Linked DNA regions of Homo sapiens: regions 2, 3, 4, 5, 6 and 7 are each linked to region 1. Evidence: promoter capture Hi-C in 16 types of primary human blood cells and fetal thymus (Javierre and others, 2016). All regions are on one chromosome and are shown on one strand. The core of a region is centred on a gene start or on the middle of the fragment in contact, and the rest is flanking DNA. Distances in the headings are between cores, read along the strand shown. Region 1 holds the start of CLEC12A-AS1 (CLEC12A antisense RNA 1). Region 2 has its middle 5.7 kb from the start of GABARAPL1. Region 3 overlaps CLECL1 (C-type lectin like 1). Region 4 has its middle 3.3 kb from the start of TMEM52B. Region 5 has its middle 14 kb from the start of CD69. Region 6 overlaps OLR1 (oxidized low density lipoprotein receptor 1). Region 7 has its middle 31 kb from the start of CD69.

Evidence for each region. The method cuts DNA at HindIII sites, captures the fragments that hold promoters and counts their contacts. A CHiCAGO score of 5 or more calls a contact.
Region 2: a fragment that was not itself captured here is called in contact with the fragment with the promoter of CLEC12A-AS1 in region 1 in 2 of 17 cell types (neutrophils and monocytes); the score reaches 8.1 in neutrophils.
Region 3: a contact is called between a fragment that was not itself captured here and the fragment with the promoter of CLEC12A-AS1 in region 1, in 2 of 17 cell types (neutrophils and monocytes). The highest score is 8.2, in neutrophils.
Region 4: a contact is called between a fragment that was not itself captured here and the fragment with the promoter of CLEC12A-AS1 in region 1, in 2 of 17 cell types (monocytes and neutrophils). The highest score is 6.1, in monocytes.
Region 5: a contact is called between a fragment that was not itself captured here and the fragment with the promoter of CLEC12A-AS1 in region 1, in 3 of 17 cell types (neutrophils, monocytes and activated CD4 T cells). The highest score is 9.6, in neutrophils.
Region 6: a contact is called between a fragment that was not itself captured here and the fragment with the promoter of CLEC12A-AS1 in region 1, in 1 of 17 cell types (neutrophils). The highest score is 5.3, in neutrophils.
Region 7: a fragment that was not itself captured here is called in contact with the fragment with the promoter of CLEC12A-AS1 in region 1 in 1 of 17 cell types (neutrophils); the score reaches 6.5 in neutrophils.

The regions. Positions count from the first base shown.
Region 1 is chr12:9,951,643-9,954,594 of GRCh38, forward strand. CLEC12A-AS1 (CLEC12A antisense RNA 1) reads right to left here and starts at 1,695. Exons shown (of 3, transcript NR_135047.1): 1 at 908-1,695; 2 at 1-437. LOC124902874 (a long non-coding RNA gene) reads left to right here and starts at 15. Exons shown (of 2, transcript XR_007063207.1): 1 at 15-1,395. It also overlaps a transcript of CLEC12A not described here. The HindIII fragment of the contact is 17,088 bases long and covers 1-2,952 here.
Region 2 is chr12:10,205,661-10,208,612 of GRCh38, forward strand. No RefSeq gene overlaps it. Among named protein-coding and RNA genes, the nearest start is that of GABARAPL1, 5.7 kb to the right of the region's middle. The HindIII fragment of the contact is 3,050 bases long and covers 1-2,948 here.
Region 3 is chr12:9,729,207-9,732,158 of GRCh38, forward strand. The region is part of intron 1 of CLECL1 (C-type lectin like 1); the gene reads right to left. Among named protein-coding and RNA genes, the nearest start is that of CLECL1, 2.4 kb to the right of the region's middle. RefSeq lists a silencer at 1,624-1,683. The HindIII fragment of the contact is 1,192 bases long and covers 783-1,974 here.
Region 4 is chr12:10,174,231-10,177,182 of GRCh38, forward strand. It overlaps a transcript of OLR1 not described here and a transcript of TMEM52B not described here. Among named protein-coding and RNA genes, the nearest start is that of TMEM52B, 3.3 kb to the right of the region's middle. The HindIII fragment of the contact is 761 bases long and covers 1,065-1,825 here.
Region 5 is chr12:9,745,898-9,748,849 of GRCh38, forward strand. No RefSeq gene overlaps it. Among named protein-coding and RNA genes, the nearest start is that of CD69, 14 kb to the right of the region's middle. The HindIII fragment of the contact is 804 bases long and covers 1,122-1,925 here.
Region 6 is chr12:10,156,705-10,159,656 of GRCh38, forward strand. It overlaps OLR1 (oxidized low density lipoprotein receptor 1), which reads right to left. Exons shown (of 6, transcript NM_002543.4): 6 at 1,597-2,952. Among named protein-coding and RNA genes, the nearest start is that of OLR1, 14 kb to the right of the region's middle. The HindIII fragment of the contact is 1,033 bases long and covers 1,007-2,039 here.
Region 7 is chr12:9,790,113-9,793,064 of GRCh38, forward strand. No RefSeq gene overlaps it. Among named protein-coding and RNA genes, the nearest start is that of CD69, 31 kb to the left of the region's middle. The HindIII fragment of the contact is 2,133 bases long and covers 318-2,450 here.

The sequences.
Region 1 (2,952 bases), core at 445-2,944:
AACTCAACTGTTTCAGTTTGGACTCTCTTGGGACTTGCTTATTGTTGCAGCAGTTAGATTGTATTCTGGTGGTTGTTTGTGTGTTGATGTAGTTGTGGGAGATCAGGGTTTGATCTGAGTGCAGACCGCTTGGGTGTATTCTTCAGGGTTGGTCTGCATGTGGCTGTGGGCCAGTGGAGTGAGGGAACATCTCTACCCGTATCACGCTGAACATGCCCAATCTCATCTGATCTCAGACAGTCTTTGAATTGTAGCACTGCCTTATATTTGGATTTATTTTGCTGTTGAATGTGAATATGGGATGGAAGTCCATGTCTCCAGGCTTCTATGCTGCTGCTCTAAGGACAGGCAGGCCTGATTAGTATGTGCTGCTGTTTGGCTACAGAGTTCTTTGGAGTCTGGAGAGATTTGGCCTTTAAAAATCAAACTGTCAGACCCTGTCTCAAGGAAAAAAAAAAAAACAGGATGTGAGCGCTCTCCCTCTCCCTCTCCCTCTCCCTCTCCGTCTCCCTCTCCCTCTCCCTCTCCGTCTCCCTCTCCCTCTCCCTCTCCGTCTCCCTCTCCCTCTCCCCACGGTCTCCCTCTCATGTGGAGCCGAAGCTGGACTGTACTGCTGCCATCTCGGCTCACTGCAACCTCCCTGCCTGATTCTCCTGCCTCAGCCTGCCGAGTGCCTGCGATTGCAGGCACGCACCACCACGCCTGACTGGTTTTGGTGGAGACGGGGTTTCGCTGTGTTGGCCGGGCCGGTCTCCAGCCCCTAACCGCGAGTGATCCGCCAGCCTTGGCCTCCCGAGGTGCCGGGATTGCAGACGGAGTCTCGTTCACTCAGTGCTCAATGGTGCCCAGGCTGGAGTGCAGTGGCGTGATCTCGGCTCACTACAACCTACACCTCCCAGCAACCTGCCTTGGCCTCCCAAAGTGCCGAGATTGCAGCCTCTGCCCGGCCGCCACCCCGTCTGGGAAGTGAGGAGTGTCTCCGCCTGGCCACCCATCGTCTGGGATGTGAGGAGCCCCTCTGCCTGGCTGCCCAGTCTGGAAAGTGAGGAGCGTCTCCGCCCGGCCGCCATCCCATCTAGGAAGTGAGGAGCGCCTCTTCCCAGCCGCCATCACATCTAGGAAGTGAGGAGCGTCTCTGCCCGGCCGCCCATCGTCTGAGATGTGGGGAGCGCCTCTGCCCCGCCGCCCCATCTGGGATGTGAGGAGCGCCTCTGCCCGGCCGAGACCCCGTCTGGGAGGTGAGGAGCGTCTCTGCCCGGCCGCCCCGTCTGAGAAGTGAGGAGACCCTCTGCCTGGCAACCACCCCGTCTGAGAAGTGAGGAGCCCCTCCGCCCGGCAGCCGCCCCGTCTGAGAAGTGAGGAGCCTCTCCGCCCGGCAGCCACCCCATCTGGGAAGTGAGGAGCGTCTCCGCCCAGCAGCCACCCCGTCCGGGAGGGAGGTGGGGGGGGTTAGCCCTCCGCCCGGCCAGCCGCCCCATCCGGGAGGGAGGTGGGGGGTCAGCCCCCCGCCTGGCCAGCCATGCCGTCCGGGAGGGAGGTGGGGGGGTCAGCCCCCTGCCCGGCCAGCCGCCCCGTCCAGGAGGTGAGGGGCGCCTCTGCCCGCCCCCCCCTACTGGGAAGTGAGGAGCCCCTCAGCCCGGCCAGCCACCCCGTCTGGGACGGAGATGGGGGGTCAGCCCCCCCGCCCAGCCAGCTGCCCCGTCCGGGAGGGAGGTGGGGGGGTCAGCCCCCCGCCTGGCCAGCCGCCCCGTCCGGGAGGGAGGTGGGGGGGTCAGCCCCCCGCCTGGCCAGCCGCCCCGTCCGGGAGGGAGGTGGGGGGGGTCAGCCCCCCCGCCCAGCCAGCCGCCCCGTCCGGGAGGTGAGGGGCGCCTCTGCCCGGCCGCCCCCTACTGGGAAGTGAGGAGCCCCTCTGCCTGGCCAGCCGCCCCGTCCGGGAGGGAGGTGGGGGGGTCAGCCCCCTGCCCGGCCAGCCGCCCCGTCCGGGAGGTGAGGGGCGCCTCTGCCCGGCCGCCCCTACTGGGAAGTGAGGAGCCCCTCTGCCCGGCCACCACCCCGTCTGGGAGGTGTGCCCAGCAGCTCATTGAGAACGGGCCAGGATGACAATGGCGGCTTTGTGGAATAGAAAGGCGGGAAAGGTGGGGAAAAGATTGAGAAATGGGATGGTTGCCGTGTCTGTGTAGAAAGAAGTAGACATGGGAGACTTTTCATTTTGTTCTGCACTAAGAAAGATTCTTCTGCCTTGGGATCCTGTTGATCTGTGACCTTACCCCCAACCCTGTGCTCTCTGAAACATGTGCTGTGTCCACTCAGGGTTAAATGGATTAAGGGCGGTGCAAGATGTGCTTTGTTAAACAGATGCTTGAAGGCAGCATGCTCGTTAAGAGTCATCACCAATCCCTAATCTCAAGTAATCAGGGACACAAACACTGCGGAAGGCCGCAGGGTCCTCTGCCTAGGAAAACCAGAGACCTTTGTTCACTTGTTTATCTGCTGACCTTCCCTCCACTATTGTCCCATGACCCTGCCAAATCCCCTCTGTGAGAAACACCCAAGAATTATCAATAAAAAAAAAAAAAAAAAAAAAAAAAAAATCAAACTGTCAGCTGGGCGCAAGAAACTGAGGTGGGCAGATACTTGAGCCCAGGAGTTCGAGACCAGCCTGGGCAACATGGTGAAACCCTGTCTCTACAAAAAATACAAATATTAGCTGGGTGTAATGGTGCATACCTGTAGTCCCAGCTACTCAGGAGGCTGAGGTGGGAGGATTACCTGAGCCTGGGAGGTTGAGGCTGCAGTGAGCCTTGATCACACCACTGCACTTCCAGCCTGGGTGACGGAGATCCTGTCTCAAAAAAAAAAATAATCAAACTATCATGGAAACTGCTTTATTCAAAATTTTGTTTCACAACCTTTATTGGATTACCTATCAGAACAAATAAAGTTCAACCATGT
Region 2 (2,952 bases), core at 174-2,673, 250 kb after region 1:
TGCCTGGTAACTGGTCCTCCTATGATTAAGGCAGAGAAATGTTGCCCCCTGGAATATACAGGTTGGATATAGGAGGTATGGCTCTAGATTGGTGAGTTTGCATATGAAAGGCAGGTTCTCAGCTGAGCCCTTGCTATCTCTAAGAACTGGTTAGGTCTGGTAAAGACAGTCTCTCCCCAGCCAGAATTTTTTTTTTAATGTAAAAACACCATAATATACAGAAAATAAGAAAATAAACTATCTCTCACTACTGGAACGGGCTATCTGAAACTAGGGACCTGAATGCCCTTAGAACTCCCCCAAACTCTGTATATATTTCTATGTCTCTCTATCCCTATCATATAACTTGCCTCTCTGAGTGTTATCTTTATCTCATTTATCTGGTGACTGCTTGAGACCAAAACGATAGCAGCCCCTGATCTCATAGCATCCACTATGGTCTGAACGTGTGTTTCCTCGCCAAATTTGTACACTGAAATCCTAACCCATAAGATGATGTTATTAGGAGGTGAGGCCTTTGGTAGGTGATTAAGTCATGAGAATGGAACCCTCATAAATGGATTAGTGCCGTTATAAAAGAGGCCTGAGACAGAACCCTCTTTCTTTCCTTCTGCTATGTGAGGTTGGAGTGAGAAGGCAGCTGTCTATGAGGAAGCAGGCCCTCACCAGATAGTTAATCAGCTGGCACCTTGATCTCGGACTTCCCAGTCTCCTGAACTGTGAGAAATGAATCTCTGTTGTTTATAAGCCACCCAGTCTATGGTATTTTGTTATAGCAGCTGGAATGGACTAAGACATCATCTAAACTTCGTCATCAAAGAAGAAGGGGCTCCTTTCCTTTAGTTCATATGTAAGAAATTCTAAGGAAAAATTCTGATTAATCTTATGGCCAAGGCAATGAGATTTTATGATTGGTGAGTTCCACTAGAACCATGCGGTGTCAATGTAAAAAGAGTAGTTACTTCTGAAACCATACATATATCCCCCCCCGCACCCCCCACCCGAAAAAAAAAAGGACATGTAATGGGCATCATGTTTTTTGTTCGTTTGTTTGTTTGTTTGAGACGTAGTTTTGCTCTTGTTGCCCAAGCTGGAGTTCAATGGCACGATCTCGGCTCACTGCAACCTCCACCTCCCAGTTCAAGCAATTATCCTATCTCAGCCTCTCAAGTAACTGGGATTATAGGCGCGAGCCACTACGCCTGGCTAACTTTTTGTATTTTTAGTAGAAACAAGGTTTCAGCATATTAGCTATACTGGTCTTGAACTCCTGACCTCAGGTGATCTGCCCACCTCAGCCTCCCAAAGTGCTGGGATTACAGGTGTGAGCCACCACACCCAGCCAGCATCATCTTATCTAATGAACAATGCATCATTATCAGTGCTATGGCAAAGATAAGCACACAATACTTTGCAAGTGCCTAGAAGGAATACAGAACTCAGGCAAAGGAGATCAAAAGGTTTCCTAGAGAAGATGATGCCTGAACTAAACCCTGAATGTTTTATAGAAACTAGTCAGAAAAAAAAAGGGAGAAAACGTTTTCACAGGAAGGAGGCTTTGAATATCCAGTGGTCTGAAACAATACCAATATAGGGAAAATAATTTAGTATGCCTGAACCATAGAGTACAATGATAGGAAATGGCTATATATGAGCCTCAAGAGAGAAACAACAGCCTGATTGTAAGTACTCTATTTCCGTTGTAAAGAATTTGAACTGTCTCCCAAAGATTACAGAGAATGCTGACCACTGAATGATATTAAGAAGAGAAATGACACAATGAAATATAGCTTTATTACATTTAGTCTGGCATCAGTGAGCTCTCTTTTTCCTAGAAGTGGGAAAGACAAGACTGAACACTATTTACTAATGTGTTTGAGTAATAATGTTTTGTTTGTTTGTTTGTTTGTTATTTTGAGGTGGAGTTTCACTCTTGTTGCCCAGGCTGGAGTGCAATGCCGCGATCTTGGCTCACTGCACCCTCTGCCTCCCGGGTTCAAGTGATTCTCCTGCCTCAGCCTTCTGAGTAGCTTGGATTACAGGCATGCACCACCACGCCCAGCTAATTTTGTATTCTTAGTAGAGACGGGGTTTCTCCATGTTGGTCAGGCTAGTCTCAAACTCCCGACCTCAGGTGATCTGCCCGCCTTGGCCTCCCAAAGTGCTGGGGTTACAGGCGTGAGCCACCGCGCCTGGCCCAATAGTGGTGATTTTGAAGCATATTCTCAGATTCTCCAATACTTCCTCCAGGTAGAAGTGGAGTCTGTGGCACCTTCCTTTGAATCTGAGCAGAACTTTGTGACTGCTCTGAGAAACAGAATGAGGCAGAAGTGTCCCTTTCAAATTAAAATGACTAGATTACAAGAGGCCATGTGCTTTCTGCTGACTTCTTTTGGCAAATTTGCCCAGAGAGCCCATAGGTACCATGAAAGAAGTTTAGCTAGCCTGCAGCCACTATGGGAAGAGACCCATGGTGAGATCCTATAGAGAAAGGAAGAGGTGGCTGAGGAGCGCCAATTGTTTGAGTCTTCCCAGTCCAACTACCAAAACTGCTAGTGAAGAAGCCTTCCAAGAAGATCCTATCACCAGTCACTAATTAAAACCAAAGCTGAGCCCCATTACTTCAGATTTGTGAGCAAAATAGATGATGCTATTATCTTAAGCCATTCCTTTGAGGTGGTTTGCTATATAGCAACAGATCATTAGAACGAAGCCAAAATTTTTAAAAAATGAAGATTAAACTAAGGTAGTGGCAGCTGCAATGAAGCAATGTAAGCACACAAATTATTAAGGAGGAAAACCCACTCATGTATAGTTCAGGGGCAGGAAATATTTTCCTAGTCTTGGAGTCAGCCAGGCACATCGTGGTGGTATTTGACACTTGATCTGTGGATGGCAGCTTATTTAAAAATTCAAATTAAGTAATAAAATCCCTTGTTTAAATTCCAAGCT
Region 3 (2,952 bases), core at 129-2,628, 220 kb before region 1:
TTAGGAGTAGCAGATATGAATAAGCATACACAGAAACACAAGTCATAATTTAATTTGCTTCCTTCTGAACATGGTTTCAGAGACATCTGTGTATATCCCAACATCAAACTGCACCAGGCAATTCACTGCATGATCTTGATCATAAAATAAGCAACTAATCTTGCCATCTCTTTTCTTTATCATTGAGATGAATTTATAATGTATATTTTATCACATGGTGAAATTCTATAGAAAATCTCTAATTTTAGTTGTGTATCAAATTTTACACTTTTTGTGAAGTTGTACCATATTGTTTAGGAACCATTTAAATAGCAAACACAGTTACAACAAGTTAGGAGAAAAATAATACCCTGAGATGAATAAATAATATTACTAATTACTTACCCAAAATATTCAGTACAATTACTATTACCAGAAGGATAATATTATTGCACATCCAACGTTAAGAACAATTCCATGGTGGTGAGAATCTACAAAATTGAATAGATTTCACTAGTAAACCCAGCAGGTAGCTCCTTAGATGGTGAGAGGTAGGAGAGGGCCAAATAAACTTTCTCACCTATCATGTTCCTGAGTTACTTTCCTTCGAAATATGTAGACCCAGCTTCTTTTTTTTTTTCCACACAAAACACACATATGCGAGTATTCTCTGGTTTGAATAAATATGAATTTTTCCTTTTGGTTTCACTGTTTATATTCCCCAGTATTGATCTTACTTATGATCACTGTCTGTGTCTCTGGGTTTTTATATAAGACTGTGAAACCCTCAAGATTCTCTAATAAGCTTATTGACAACACCCATTTATTTGAGCTGATCTTTTCTGTTTCTCCTCTTATATAATGTATCCATTTCCTGTGATATAGCATTGTAATTCCATAAAACCATACATTTAAACATAAAAGAAATGTTAGAGATTATTTTAACGCAATACCCACGTGTTAAAATGGGGATATTCAAGTTCACAGTCACACAGTTACTTGAGAGCAGAGCTGATATCTAACCTCAGGTCTCTTGACTACCAGACTAGTGCTGCCTTCGGTATCCACACTTCTCATTGCATTTGAAGTACTCAAAAGATAATAAATAAACCAAATAAAAGAAGTTGTACTTTTAGCTTTAGGCTGAAAGTTTAAAACAACAGTCTCTGGTACATAAAAGTTACAGTACATTGTTTCCACTAGATATGTGACCTAAACACACAATACACTGAGAAAGTACTGAAAATAGCTGATATTGAAATATAATCATATCAAGACTAAATGGAATGTTTATTTGGTAGATTATTATTGAGTGCATTGTTTTATGTGCTGATTATTATTGCTATTAATTAAAACATCTTTAATAGGAATTTGTTAATTTTCAAAACATTAAAAGAAGTCCACATATTTTCACTCATCAGACAAAACAGTCAAAATTGTGGGAGTCAAGTCAGTCACAGAAAGAATGTGGTGATGTCACTACACGTTTCTTTTTCTTTCTTTTTTTCTTTTCTTTTTTTTTTGGATAGGCTTTTGTTCTGTTGCCCAGGCTAGAGTGCAGTGGCATGATCACTGCTCACTGCAACCTCCACCTCCCAGGTTCAAGCAATCTTACTGCCTCAGCCTCCTGAGTAGCTGTGAATACAGGCACGTGTCACCATGCTCGTTTTTAAAATTTTTGGTAGGCATGAGGTCTCTCTGTGTTGTCCAGGCTGGTACCAATCTCATGGGCTCAAGCGATCCTCCTTCCTCGGCATCCCAAAGTGTTGGGATTACAGGCGTCAGCCATTGTGCCTGGCCACTACACATGTTACTAATATGACGAACTGAAATTATGGATCCCTAAGTTTAGTAGAATAAAATTTCAGATTTCATAAAAAGACTAACATAAAAGATATTGATCATTCTTTTAGGCCTCCTAAGTAAGATTTAAGCAAAGCATAAATTTCTGGGATATTCTCAGTTCAAACACACACTCTCACTGATGTCCTGCTAAGCTTCCTGATGACATTCCTTTATGCTTTACATCTTGGAGAACCAATGAGCATACATATATACATTCATCGTCTAATGCGATTCATTTATTTATTCAGCCATTTATAAATTATTTTACTTATCAAGCATCTATTAATTTCCTGCTCTATATTTAGTACGGTGTGAGGTGCTAGAAACACAAAGATTAATAGATTATGTAGAAAGATTCAGCATTTTATGAGGCTCTGAAATGGTAAGGAATATGACAACCTTTAGGAGAAAAGAAAAGGCCAATAGCCAGAGCAAAATCAGTGAAAGGTATGAGGTTAGAAGAGATCAGGAACAATTGTGTAGGACTCTGTATGTAAGACAACAAAAATCTAATCTATCCAACAGCTCTTTCGCTTGATGGCGAAGTGACGCATGAGAACAAAAGTTGCGTTTATCTAACACCACACGTATACAGCACAAGAACAATATGATATTTGACTTCTGGTCATAAGCATGACTATAGGTAGGTAATTTAATCTTCATATAGTTCGTTTTCTCATTTTTAGCATTCTAAGATTGAACTAGATCACATTAAAAGATGTTGCCCCACATCCCTAAACTGGGAAAAGAATAAGGTTTTATTTATAAAAGTTCAAACCATAGACAGAAAGGCAATTAAACCCTGGAATGCGGAATCAAAAATATTGGTTTTGTTGCTTAAACTGAGTAAAATAACCTCTAGAAAAAGAAACTAACTACAGGACATTTTTGAAGCATAGGGGAATGACAGTGCAGTTCTAGTCCATGTTATTTTTCAAATTATGTTTCACTATTTCATAGGAAGTGAAAGTGCCTAAGCTGGAAGAAAAGAAAGCAAGTTAGCCTCTGCTGGGTAAAATAGAGAGGTAAGGTTTAAAATAAGAAACAAGATGCTTTTACAACCAGAAAAGGACACACACTAGATTCCTTTGATAACTATAAACTTTTGAAAATATAAAGAAGAAATAC
Region 4 (2,952 bases), core at 195-2,694, 220 kb after region 1:
TTTTGTATTTTCAGTAGAGACAGGGTTTCACCATGTTGGCCAGGCTGGTCTTGAACTCCTGTCCTCAAGTGATCCGCCTGCCTCAGCCTCCCACAGTGCTGGGATTACAAGCGTGAGCCACCGTGCTGGCCTTCTGTGTCTTCTTGACTGGGTCATGGGGTTCCCAGACAGGATGCTTTTAAATGAGATTAACATATTAATCAGAAGAGGAAAGTAGATTTCGCTGCATAATGTAGGTGGGCCTCATCCAAAAGTTGAAGGCCTAAAGAACAAAAAGCTTCTAACCTTCCCCCAAATAAGAAAGAATCCCCCAGCTGTCTATGGACTGGAACTCAGCCATCAACTCTCCCAGTTCTCCACTCGCTGGCCGAGTCTGGCAGCCCACACTCCAGATTTTAAATTACCAGGCTCTATAATCATACAAGCCAATTCCTTATAATAAACCTATTTCTATGTATGTACACAGCGTATTGATCCTCTTTCTCTGCACAGACCTAATACAAATCCCAATTCCTTTCTCCTTTCTTGGAAACCACCGTTCCATTTTTTTGTTTCTATAAATTGGTTTATTTTAGGCACCTCATACTGGTGGAATCATATAATATTTGTCCTTTTGTATCTAAATTATTTTATTTAGCATTATGTCTTCAACAATTATCAATGTGGTAGCATGTGTCAGAATTTTGTTCCTTTTAAAGTCTGTATAATATTCCATTGTATGTATAAACCACATTCTACATTTTATTTATCCATTGATGGACGTTTGGGTTTATCCTGTTTTTAAAGATCAGTGGGATAGTTTCTACAGTCCTTGTGTGGCAGATAACTGGACAGATTTGAAAAATTTTAGAGGGCTCTCATTATTCCTGCCTCCTGGTGTTCATGATCTTGTGTAATCCTTCCCCTTGAGTGTGAGTGAGACCTATGACTTGGAGTGTAGCAGAGGTGCTGGAATGTATGTGATCATCTACGTGTGCTTATGTAAGGTATAGTGACTATTATGCTAAAGTCACTCTCCCTCTCCTATTTCCATCTTTATCTCCCTGTCTAGATTTTTAAAAGCAAGCTTAAATGGATCCTGCAGCCATAGAGAAATAAATTCTGCCTGAGGGAGCTTGCAAGTGAATCTTCCCAGGCTCACCTGAGAATGCATGATGAGAGTGCAACCCAGCAGCCACCTTGACTGCAGCCTTGTGAGACATCAAGCAGAGGACCCAACTAAGTTGTGCCCACACTTCTGACTCACAGATACTTTGAAATAATAAAAGTACATTGTTTTACCTTGCTGCTCACATAATTTGTGGTGATGTGTTACACAGCATATCAACCTAAAACATTCTATGATAAACTGAATCCTTCTGTCTTGTTTAACTTTTTTAACTCTAATCTTTTTACTGATTTCAGTGCCTTTGAAGCTGTCACTCAATCCCTATGCTGTGATCTTGGCTTATCAGACAGAAACACTTCCCAAGGGATCTCCCAAGGGTTGCAAAGATGAAACTTCTTCTGCTATATTATTTATTTTTGAAATCAGGGCTGTGGCCCTACCCACTGACTTATAGTTTGAGGTTGATGCCTCAGAGTCCTGGCCTCTATTTTATTGAGGCACAGAGAGGAAAGAAATCCATAGTTGGCCACCTGACTTAGGCAAGGTCAAAAGGAGAATGATCAGTGGAACCAGAAGTAAGCAATTTGTTTGGCTACACTTGTTACACCAGTTGTATAACAATTCCCTGAAGCATAGGTGTAAAACTCTATGTACATGCACCCTCTACTGGTTCCACTCCAAGTCCTTAACTACCTGGACATAAGCTAATGATTCACAAGCTTAATGGAACTGCACAAGATTGTATAGGATTGTAATGAGACCATTTCCCTCTATCCCAGCTACCTGCCCTTCTGTACCTGTCCAAAGTGTACTTCGTTCAGTCTTCTTGTCTGAATTATCTTTCTTCTTTCATCATTCCCTATATGGAGGCTTGGTTAGGGACAGGATTCAGAGTTAAAGCTGCCCCAAGGCATAATCTCATTCATTAGGATAAAAACAAACTTTTATCTTTCCAGGGACTAATCTGGTGAGAAAAAAAAAAAGGGTAGTAATAATTCTAAGAAAGGAAAGTCACAAGGAGGTCATTAACAGAACCTATTTTGTTCAAACCTGTTTGGAAGCTGGAGGGCAAAAAGATGATGGCAATTACGTGTTAGAAAAGTGCAATGCGAGCGGGGAGTCATGTTAACCAGCAAACCTGTTTAGGCAGGTGAAGGCTGGCGTGGTTGGGAGAAAAGGTGGCCAGGCTAGCAAGGAAAAATATTCAAGAATTAGAATATCAGGAGACTAAAATGTGGTCTGGAGAGGGAATGGTATAAAAATATACAAGAGAAGCATAAAGGACAGTAATTATCCAGAATCTTGAAAGTAAAGGTCACTGGTAAACTTTAGTGAAAATCAAAATAATCTTAGCAAACACAAAAAATATCAGGACTGTTATATTCATTTTACACACATTAACTTATTTAATCTGTATAAGGCTATCAAGTAAATATTACTACTATTACCCCCATTTTATATAAAATGAAAATGAGCCAATAGAGGTCTAATAACCTGCTCCAAGATCACACAGCTCATAAGTGACAAAACCAAGTATTTAAACCCAGGTATCCTGGCTAGGCTTTAGGTCTTGGTGCTCTACTGTCTTTCTGTCAAGAAAAAGAGAAGGGAAAGTTTCATGATGGGTTCCCTACGTACAGGGCACTCATGATAGAAATATCCTATTCAAAATGCTTTCCTGTCTCTTATTTTATTTTCTCTAGGAAATAACATCTAAAGCAGGTCAAGTGGGTATTCTGCTCCTGTTGTATGAATGGGAACGTTAAGGACTGGAGGAATTACATAATAATTTAGTGGAAGGCCACCTAAAGCCCTGCTCTCCTTGTCCTATAAAATACCTTCCA
Region 5 (2,952 bases), core at 274-2,773, 210 kb before region 1:
TGATCCGCCTGACTCGGCCTCCCAAAGTGCTGGGATTACAGGTGTGAGCCACTGTGCCTAGCCTCAGTTTTTTTCTTTTTTTCTTTTTTTTAAGACAAAAGTCCAGCACTCAACAACAACACGAAATAAATAACTGGGTACATAAATAGAAAAGATGACATTAAAAGTTACAAATAGAAATAACAGGCAGTGGTTAAGAAATTCCAAGGGCTCTAGAAAATGCAGTATCACACACAGACTTTAAAGTAAGCATGTTCAAATATTATTTCAAAAAATCAGATTTAAGTCAATACATATTTAAATTTTAAATAAATCATTTCTTAAATTTACATACCTATATAGTATTTAAAATGTAACAACATAAAATATTTTTAAAATACTAATATATTTAAAATGAACTCCTGGAAATAAAATGAATATATTAGAATTTGGACTGAAACTTGGAAAGTTTGAAAAAGGAGAAGATGGAAACTCTAGAACTAAAATCCACAGTAACTAAAATTAATTTCACAGAAGAAATAATTCTTAATCTAATAATATCTATTCTCAGCATCTCCCCCCAAAACAACCAGTCAACCTAACAAGTAAACAAAGCTAGAACAAACATTACAGTTAATGGTAGCATATTAAAAACTTTGCCTTTGACATTGGGAACAAGACAAGGTACTCACTGTTATCATTTCCACTTAACATCATTGTTCACGATGTTAACAGATACAATATGATTTTTAGGTTATAAAACTTTGGAAAGAAAAATACAGCACACATTTACCATGGATATGATTCTGTTTATAGAAAATCCAAGAAAATCTATCGATAAATTATTAGAAGTAATAAAGGAGTTTATAAGGCAGCTGGATACAAATTCAATATAAAAGAATCAATTGTATTTCTGTTTCTCAGAAACAAACTGAAAATAAAAATTTTTAAAGATACTATTTTTTTATATTGCTGCTGTAACAAATTACCACAAATTTAGCAGCTTAAAACGGCACATGATTATCTTGCGGTTTCTATAGCTCAGAAGTCCAGGCACAGTTGGTTTTCTGTTTAGGGTCCTATAAGGCCAAATTCGAGGACCTGGTTGTTTTCTGGAAGCTCTGGGGAAAAATCTGCTTTTAAGCTTGAAATAGTTTGGATGTTTGTCCTCTCCAAATCTCATGTTGAAATGTAATCCCAGTGTTGGAGAGGAGCCTTGGGGGATGTCTTTGGATCATGGGGAAGATCCCTCATGATGGCTTAGTGCTATCCCCTTGGTAATAAATGAGATCTCACTGTGAGTTCAGGCAAGATCTGGTGAGAGCATGTGGCACTTTCCCCCCGGCTCTCTTCACATGGTGGCTCCGCATTGCCATAATTGTAAGGTTCCTGAGGCCTCACCAAGAGCAAGTGCTAGAGTCATGACTGTGCAGCCTGCAGAACCATGAACCAATTAAACCTCTTTTCTTTATGAATTACCCATCCTCAGGTCTTCCTTCCTTCCCTCCCTTTCTTCCTCCTTTTTTCCCTGCCTCCCTCCTTTCCTTCCTTCCTTCCTTCCTTCCTTCCTTCCTTCCTTCCTTCCTTCCTTCCTTCTCTTCCTTCTTTTTCTTTCTTTCTTCTTTTTTACAGCATCCTCACTCTGTTGCCCTGGCTCTAGTGCAGTGGCAATCCCAGTCCACTGCAACCTCTACCTCCCAGGCTCAGGTGGTCCTTCCACCTCAAACTCCTATGTATCTGGGATGATAGGCACATGCCACCATGCCCGGCTAATTTTTGTATTTTTAGTAGAGACTGGGTTTCATCATGTTGTCCAGGCTGGTCTCGAACTCCTGAGCTCAAGGGATCCACCCACCTCGGCCTCCCAAAGTCCTGGGATAACAGGCATGATACACTGCACCTGGACAGGGAATTCTTTATAGCAATGCAAAAAAAGTGTAATACAAAGCTTCTTCAGGTTGTTAGCAAAACCAGTTTATTCGACTATAGTGCTGAAGTTTCCTTTTCTTCTTGGCTGAGGACTGAGAGCCTCTCTTAGCTTCTTAAGATCAACAGTCATTGTATTATTGATTTGTTGTCTAGGTACATGATAGATGATAGATAGATAGATAGATGATTGATAGATAGATAGATAGATAGATAGATAGATAGATAGATAGATAGATGATGGGGGTGGGGAGAGACAGATTCCTTTATCAATTATACGTGTTAGAATGTCTTCCACTCTGTGACGACTTGTCATTCTGTCCATGATGTCTTTTGAAAACTAGAAATCTGTAATTTTAAGTTTATAATGTGCAGATTTTTGTTTGTTGGTTTCAAGTTATTGGTAAGTATATGTAAAATAAGGAGAAAATAATGTGAACTTCAGGTCTCAGAACCTAGAAATTTGGAAGCAAGTCAACTTATGGTAATGTAGTTCTTTAGCATAGACGAAACACTTTTACATGCATTATTTTAATTACATTTTAAATTTGGCATTACAAATATTGAGAAATATGAATGGGGTGCAGCATTATCAAAGGTTAAGTTTTACTTTTCTAGATTATGCCATTTCCTTTATAACTAGAAAAAATACAAAATGTAGTGTTGAGAGAGTGGTGACTGCCACATCTTTCCACAAAAGAAACCAAGAATCATCATCCACACACACACAAGCCACTTGAGTGTAAAAAATAACCAAGATATATTTTAAAAATTTATTGTAAATTGACAAATTATAATTGTATCTATTTGTGGGGTATAATGTAGTGTTATTTGTACACAATGTGGAATGATTCAGTCAAGCTAATTACCATATCAATCACCATCAAATACTTATAATTTTTCATTGTGAGAACATTTGAAATTTATTTGCTTCGCGATTTTGAAATGTGCAATATATTATTGTTAATTATAGCCAGCAAGAAATTATTTTTTAATGTCCTTTGACAATGACTTAACACAGAAGTGCAGTAATCTCATACAGTCACT
Region 6 (2,952 bases), core at 273-2,772, 200 kb after region 1:
CAATGTAATCACAATCAGAATTCCAAAAGAGTTTTTGTAGAAATTAGTGAGCCAATTCAAAAATCAATATGGAAAATATAGTGACATAGCTCAGCCAATGTAACTTTGCAAAAGAAAAATAAATTTGAAGGACTGTCACTGCATGATTTTAAGATTTATTATAAAACTACAGTATTCAAAATAATGTGGTGGTGGTGTATAAATACGCAAATACAAAAATACAACAATCAGTGGAATAAAATAGAGAGTTTAGAAATAATCCCATGAATATACAGACAACTGATTGGTGATAAAGGTGCAAAAGCAATTTAGTAAAGAAAAATAGTCTTTTCGACAAATTTACATTTGTCGAATTAATCCCAAATAAATCATAGACCTCAGTATAAAACCTGAAGCTATAAAATGTCTAGAAAAAAATAAAGGAGAAAATTTTTGTGACCTTGAGTTAGTCAATGAGTTCTTACAAACCACAGCAGAATAATAAAAATGGACTTCATTAAAATAAAAAACTTCTGCTTTATGAGTATATTGTTCAAAGAATGAAAAGACAGGCTGGGCGGTGGCTCACACCTGTAATCCTAGTACTTCGGGAGGCCAAGGCAGGCAGATCACTTGAGGTCAGGAGTTCAAAACCAGCCTGGCCAACATGGTGAAACCCCATCTCTACTAAAAATACAAAAACTTAGCCAGGCATGGTGGTGGGCACCTGTAATCCCAGCTACTTGGGAGGCTGAGGCAGGAGAATCACTTGAACCTGGGAGGCGGAAGTTGCAGTAAGCTGGGATTGCACTACTCCAGCCTGGGCAACAGAGTGAGACTCCCTCTCAAAAAAAAAAAAAAAAAGACAAGACAAGAAAAACATTTCAAGATGCATATCTGATAAAAGGTTTTTATCCCAAATATATAAAGTTCTCAAACTCAACAGTAAGAAAAATAAACCAAGTAAAAATTCTCAAAAGATTTATACAGTTACTTTATCAAAGTTACCTAATACAGATGGTAAATAAGCTTATAAAAATTTGCCTGGGGCGGTGGCTCACGCCTGTAATCCCAGCACTTTCAGAAGCTGAGGTGGGTGGATCACCTGAGGTCAGGAGTCTGAGAACAGTCTGGCCGACATGGTGAAACCCCGTCTCTGCTAAAAATACAAAAATTAGCTGGAAGTGGTAGCGGGCGCCGGTAATCCCAGCTACTTGGGAGGCTGAGGCAGGAGAATTGCTTGAACCCAGGAGGCGGAGGTTGCAGTGAGCTGAGATTGTGCCACTGAACTCCAGCCTGAGCAACAAGAGCGAAACTCTGTCTCAAAAACAAACCAACAAACAGAAATTTGTAGGATACACAGATTAAAACTATGAGGATATACCATTCGATATCTACTAGAATCATTAAAACTATAAGACGAACCATATGAAATTCTGGCATGGATGAGATGGAACTGGAGCACTCATACACTGCTGGTAGGAATGAAAAATGGTACAACTTTGGAAAAGAGTTTGTCAGTTTCCTAAATAGTTAATCATACACCTACTGTGTGATCCAGACGTTATACTCCTAAGTATTTAACCAAGAGAAAAGAAATCCTATGTTCATACAGACTTGTACACAAATGTTCACAGCAGCTTTATTTGTAATATCCCAAAACTAAAACAACCCAAATGTCATCAACAAGTAAATGGGTAAATGAATTGTGGTATATCCATACAAGGGAATATTCAACATTTAAAAGAATGAATTCATACGAGCATCAAGATGGAGACATATGAATCTCAAAATAATTATGCAAAGTGAAAGAAGCCAGACAAAAAAAAAAGACATACTATATGATTCCATTCACATAAAACTACAAAATGCAAAATGAAAGCCGATTGGTGGTTTTCTGGGGAGGAGTCATCAGGAGGAGCATTGTGACACTTTGAGGGATGATGGATATGTTCACTCTCTTAATTGTAGTATGCATGTTCTCCACAAGGTGTGAAAACTTATCAAATAGTACACTTTAAATATGTTCAGTTTATTTTATGTTAATTATATCTCAATAAAGCTTTTAACAAAAGCAAACATCTCTTGCCTACATAAGGATGACACAGCTCTTAAAAAAAAAAAAAGATTCCTGCTAGATTGTGTGCAGCAAAATAAAAAGGCTTCCTTTAAAGTAGAATAGCCTGTGAAGAGTGGGTGGAAAGGAAATAGAAGCCTAAAAATAGAAGATATATTTCTAATTCCATCTGTTTCTATTCAGCGATATTTGCATACCTGGCTTAGTTTGTTCTAGATTGAGTGTCTTCATTTTTTTTGTCTTGTATGTTTCGGAATTATAGCATAGCAAAACAGAGTTGAGAAGAGTTCATCTACAAAAGGTATGTTCTTTAGGGAAAGAAATTCTATTCTTACCTCTGGGCCACACATCCCATGATTCTAACAAGAACTGTTGTGAAGGGTTAAATCTATTAATCTGTCCTCTGGTAGAAAAAAAAATGAAGAAATAATAACTGATTCAGGAAGTGGTAACAGGTTGTGGATTAGCTTACAGAAAAGACCACTCACTTACTAATTACTTTCTTGGGCTCCCCACTTGTCCCAAAATGTGTGTGTGTGTGTGTGTGTGTGTCTGTCTGTCTGTCTGTCCGTAAGTGGTAGAGTCTGGAGATGGACCACAGTTTAAAAACCAAGGATTGATACCTTTTTTAAAGTTAAGAACATGAGTTTCTTGATTTCGGAATGGCCTCTGTCCTTCTTTGTTTCTTCACGTGCACTTTTTCCCAGACATATTTCCCCTTTTTGCTCTCTGCCTGCACTTGAGCAAGTTCTCCATGTTCTGTCTTTCATGCAATTTTAGGAGTGTGAGGGGAAGGTGATAATGAGGTAAAGAAGACTGAGTTCAGAGGGTTTTCAAGCTTGAAGAGGAGTCAAATTTTAAAATAAAAAGGGGAAAATGGACTTCAGGCTGGCAGG
Region 7 (2,952 bases), core at 134-2,633, 160 kb before region 1:
TTTGTTCTTTTTACTTAGGATTGCTTTGGCTATTCAGGCTCTTTTTTTGGTTCCATATGAATTTTAGAATTGTTTTCTGTAGTTCTGTGAAAAATGATGTTGATATTTTCATGGGAATTGCATTGAATCAGTAGATTGCTTTGGGCAGTGTGGTCATTTTCATGATATTGATGATCATATTATTATAGAAATTATTAAGAAATTATTTCAGGCAGATAGGATAAGTGGTCCTTGGTAAGGTTTTTTTCTTTAAATAAAAGCAGCTCCAGAAACATTTCTTTTTTAGCAAAAAAATGGCTTGAAGGGCCAAGCCAGCAAGCTTTGATATGCAAATGCTGGCTATTAGAAGCTGGGTCCATCCAATATGGCAAGTCCCACCTTCTTCTCCTTGTCACCACATGTGCCAAGCATCATGGCACCCCCAGAGGTCTCCACTGTGCAGAAAATCATGGCGGCCTGCATTTGCATATTAAAAGACTAGGGTGGGAGAGCCAGTTTTTTTGCAGGCTATGTGAATGACATACTAAGTCAAACCAATCCCCTGGGCCTATAAAAATCAGACACCACCTCCTCCAGCCTTCTAATATAACAGATTGTTTCCACCATACTTGGGGTTTCCTCTCTCTGCTTGGAGCCACCCCCACCCCTCACCGACCCCCCGTCTCTGTAGCTGGGAGCTTCTTCTTTCTTTCTTGCCTATTAAACTCTCTGTTCCTTAAAACCACTCCATGTGTGTCCATGTTGTCTTATCTAAATTGGCGTGAGACAAAGGACTCTGGTGTTCCTCCATTCATTGAAGCTGTATCAATATTTTGTATCATTTCAATGAACTACTATAGGCAGCCCATCCCTTAAGTTTCCCTCTTAAGTTTTTTGGTCAGCTTTTCCTTTGCCCCAGCTGTTATTCCATATTAAGCAGCTGCAATGTACAGCAATAGGTGCTGATTGTTTTTGTCAAATACCCCTAGGGAAAAAGTCATTTGCACTGAGCGAGCTCTGTTTGAGATCAACTAAAGTCGTAGGTGGGAATTTCCAAGATCATGTTTGATAGTTTGAATAATGACAGTACTCTAAGAATAATTTTTGGGACTTCTAAACCCTTTATGGCCCCTCTGAGACCTGTTGGGCTACAGTTCACTACTGCTACTATAGTTGTAAGACCTACTATAGTTTTTCAAGGCTACTGTGAAGCTGAGGAATACGGAATAGGAATAGAGCAAGTTAAATCTCCACAAAGGTCACTGTTTTCAATTAAATTCACCTATTTTCTTGAGTAAATGCTTGCCAGATTTTTGCAAGTCTTTGGTTAATTCACAGTATTCTGAGGAAGTTTGTTTTGACAGTTTTTGTCAATGTTCTTGTTGATTTTATGAAGGAATAGCTTTTTGTAGGTCTTTATTCCACTGTTTCTGCTCATGTCTGGCAAGACAATTAAGCAGGTAATTATGAGGGCATGTAGAACACATCTTGGAGAATTTATTCTCAAGGTGGCATTCTATAAAATTATGTAAATATTTAATCTGAGAAGTGAAAGATGAGACAGTTTTCCAGGTGAATAAGGCAGAGGAAAAACAACAACAACAACAACTTTGTAGACAAGGGTAAAATGTACAAGTCTTAGAGATGGGAGAAAGAATGGTCCACTACAGTGAGACTGAAGAATGGAACAAGAGACAAAGCCAGATTACAGGGTGAAATCAATGCTGTTAAATAGTCTGGAATTATTCTAAGTGCAGAAAGAAAGTAATAAATTCTTATAAATTTGGGACAAATTGCAATTAGATATTAATTTTTGGAAGTTAACAGGTGCAATTTTTGGAAGTTACTCAGTCTAACAGGTGCAAGATGAACTGGAATAAAGGGATACCATAGAGAGATGACTGCCTTTAAGACCAATGCAGTGGAAGTAGAGATGATGGAAAGTTGTTGAATTAAAGACATTACTAGTCATTACAGTCTATGATTTATTAGGTAGGGTCATTTAATCAGAAAAAAATGCAGACAGAGAGTCAAGGATGGCCTTCATGCTTTGATTCCTAAAACTGTGGGCAGTATTCTTTCAAATGAGTCAGAAATTAGGGGGTAAAATTAGATTTAGAAAAGAATCAAAATGATCACTTTTGTTTCTGGAATATGTGGGAGATTGAGTTGGATATTTTAATGGACTTTTGGATATATGCTGCTAGCCCTAAGCAAAGGAGTCTGATCAGGAAAATTTATCTATCTATCTATCTATCTATCTATCTATCTATCTATCTATCCATCTATCTATCTATCTATCTGCATATATGTGTGTATATATGTATATATATGTGTGTGTGTGTGTGTATATATATATATATGTCTTCCTTATCTTTTGATTTAAAAACTGGTTTTCCATTTACAATGGGTGCAATGGTGTGTCTCCACTTTGGACTGAAGCCTCATTGTCTCAGCACCTGGGAGTCAGAAGCTTTCAACTGAATCTTCCTTGTATGGCTCTCAGCTAAACAGAAGTGCCTTCTCAAAGTCACACTTTCTCCCAGTGCCAGATGTATCAAACGGCTGGTTCGTGTGGGAGTATAAAAGCTTGGACTTGTTGCCTTATATCAAGATAAACTTGAAAGGGCACTCACCTCCAGAGCTCCCTATACTGTTAGCTGAAGCCTTTGTGTTACTGCATCACAATTCAATATCTGCCTTTGCCCAATCCTTTCTTTCTCATCCACAGGTACTTAACATCCTTTATGTAATCCTTCATCTGAGAGTCTGTTTTTGAGGAACCTGACCTGTAACACAGCCTGAAGAAATTTGGGGACAAATCCTAGCAAAAAATTGGGATATCATTCTTGATGTATTTATTTTTTGGATGATACATATCATTTTACTCCCTAAGAGCCATACCAATCAATACTACAAAAGAATGAGCAAACGGAATTTCTCTGCAGCCTGTATCTCAACAAGATCTGCTCC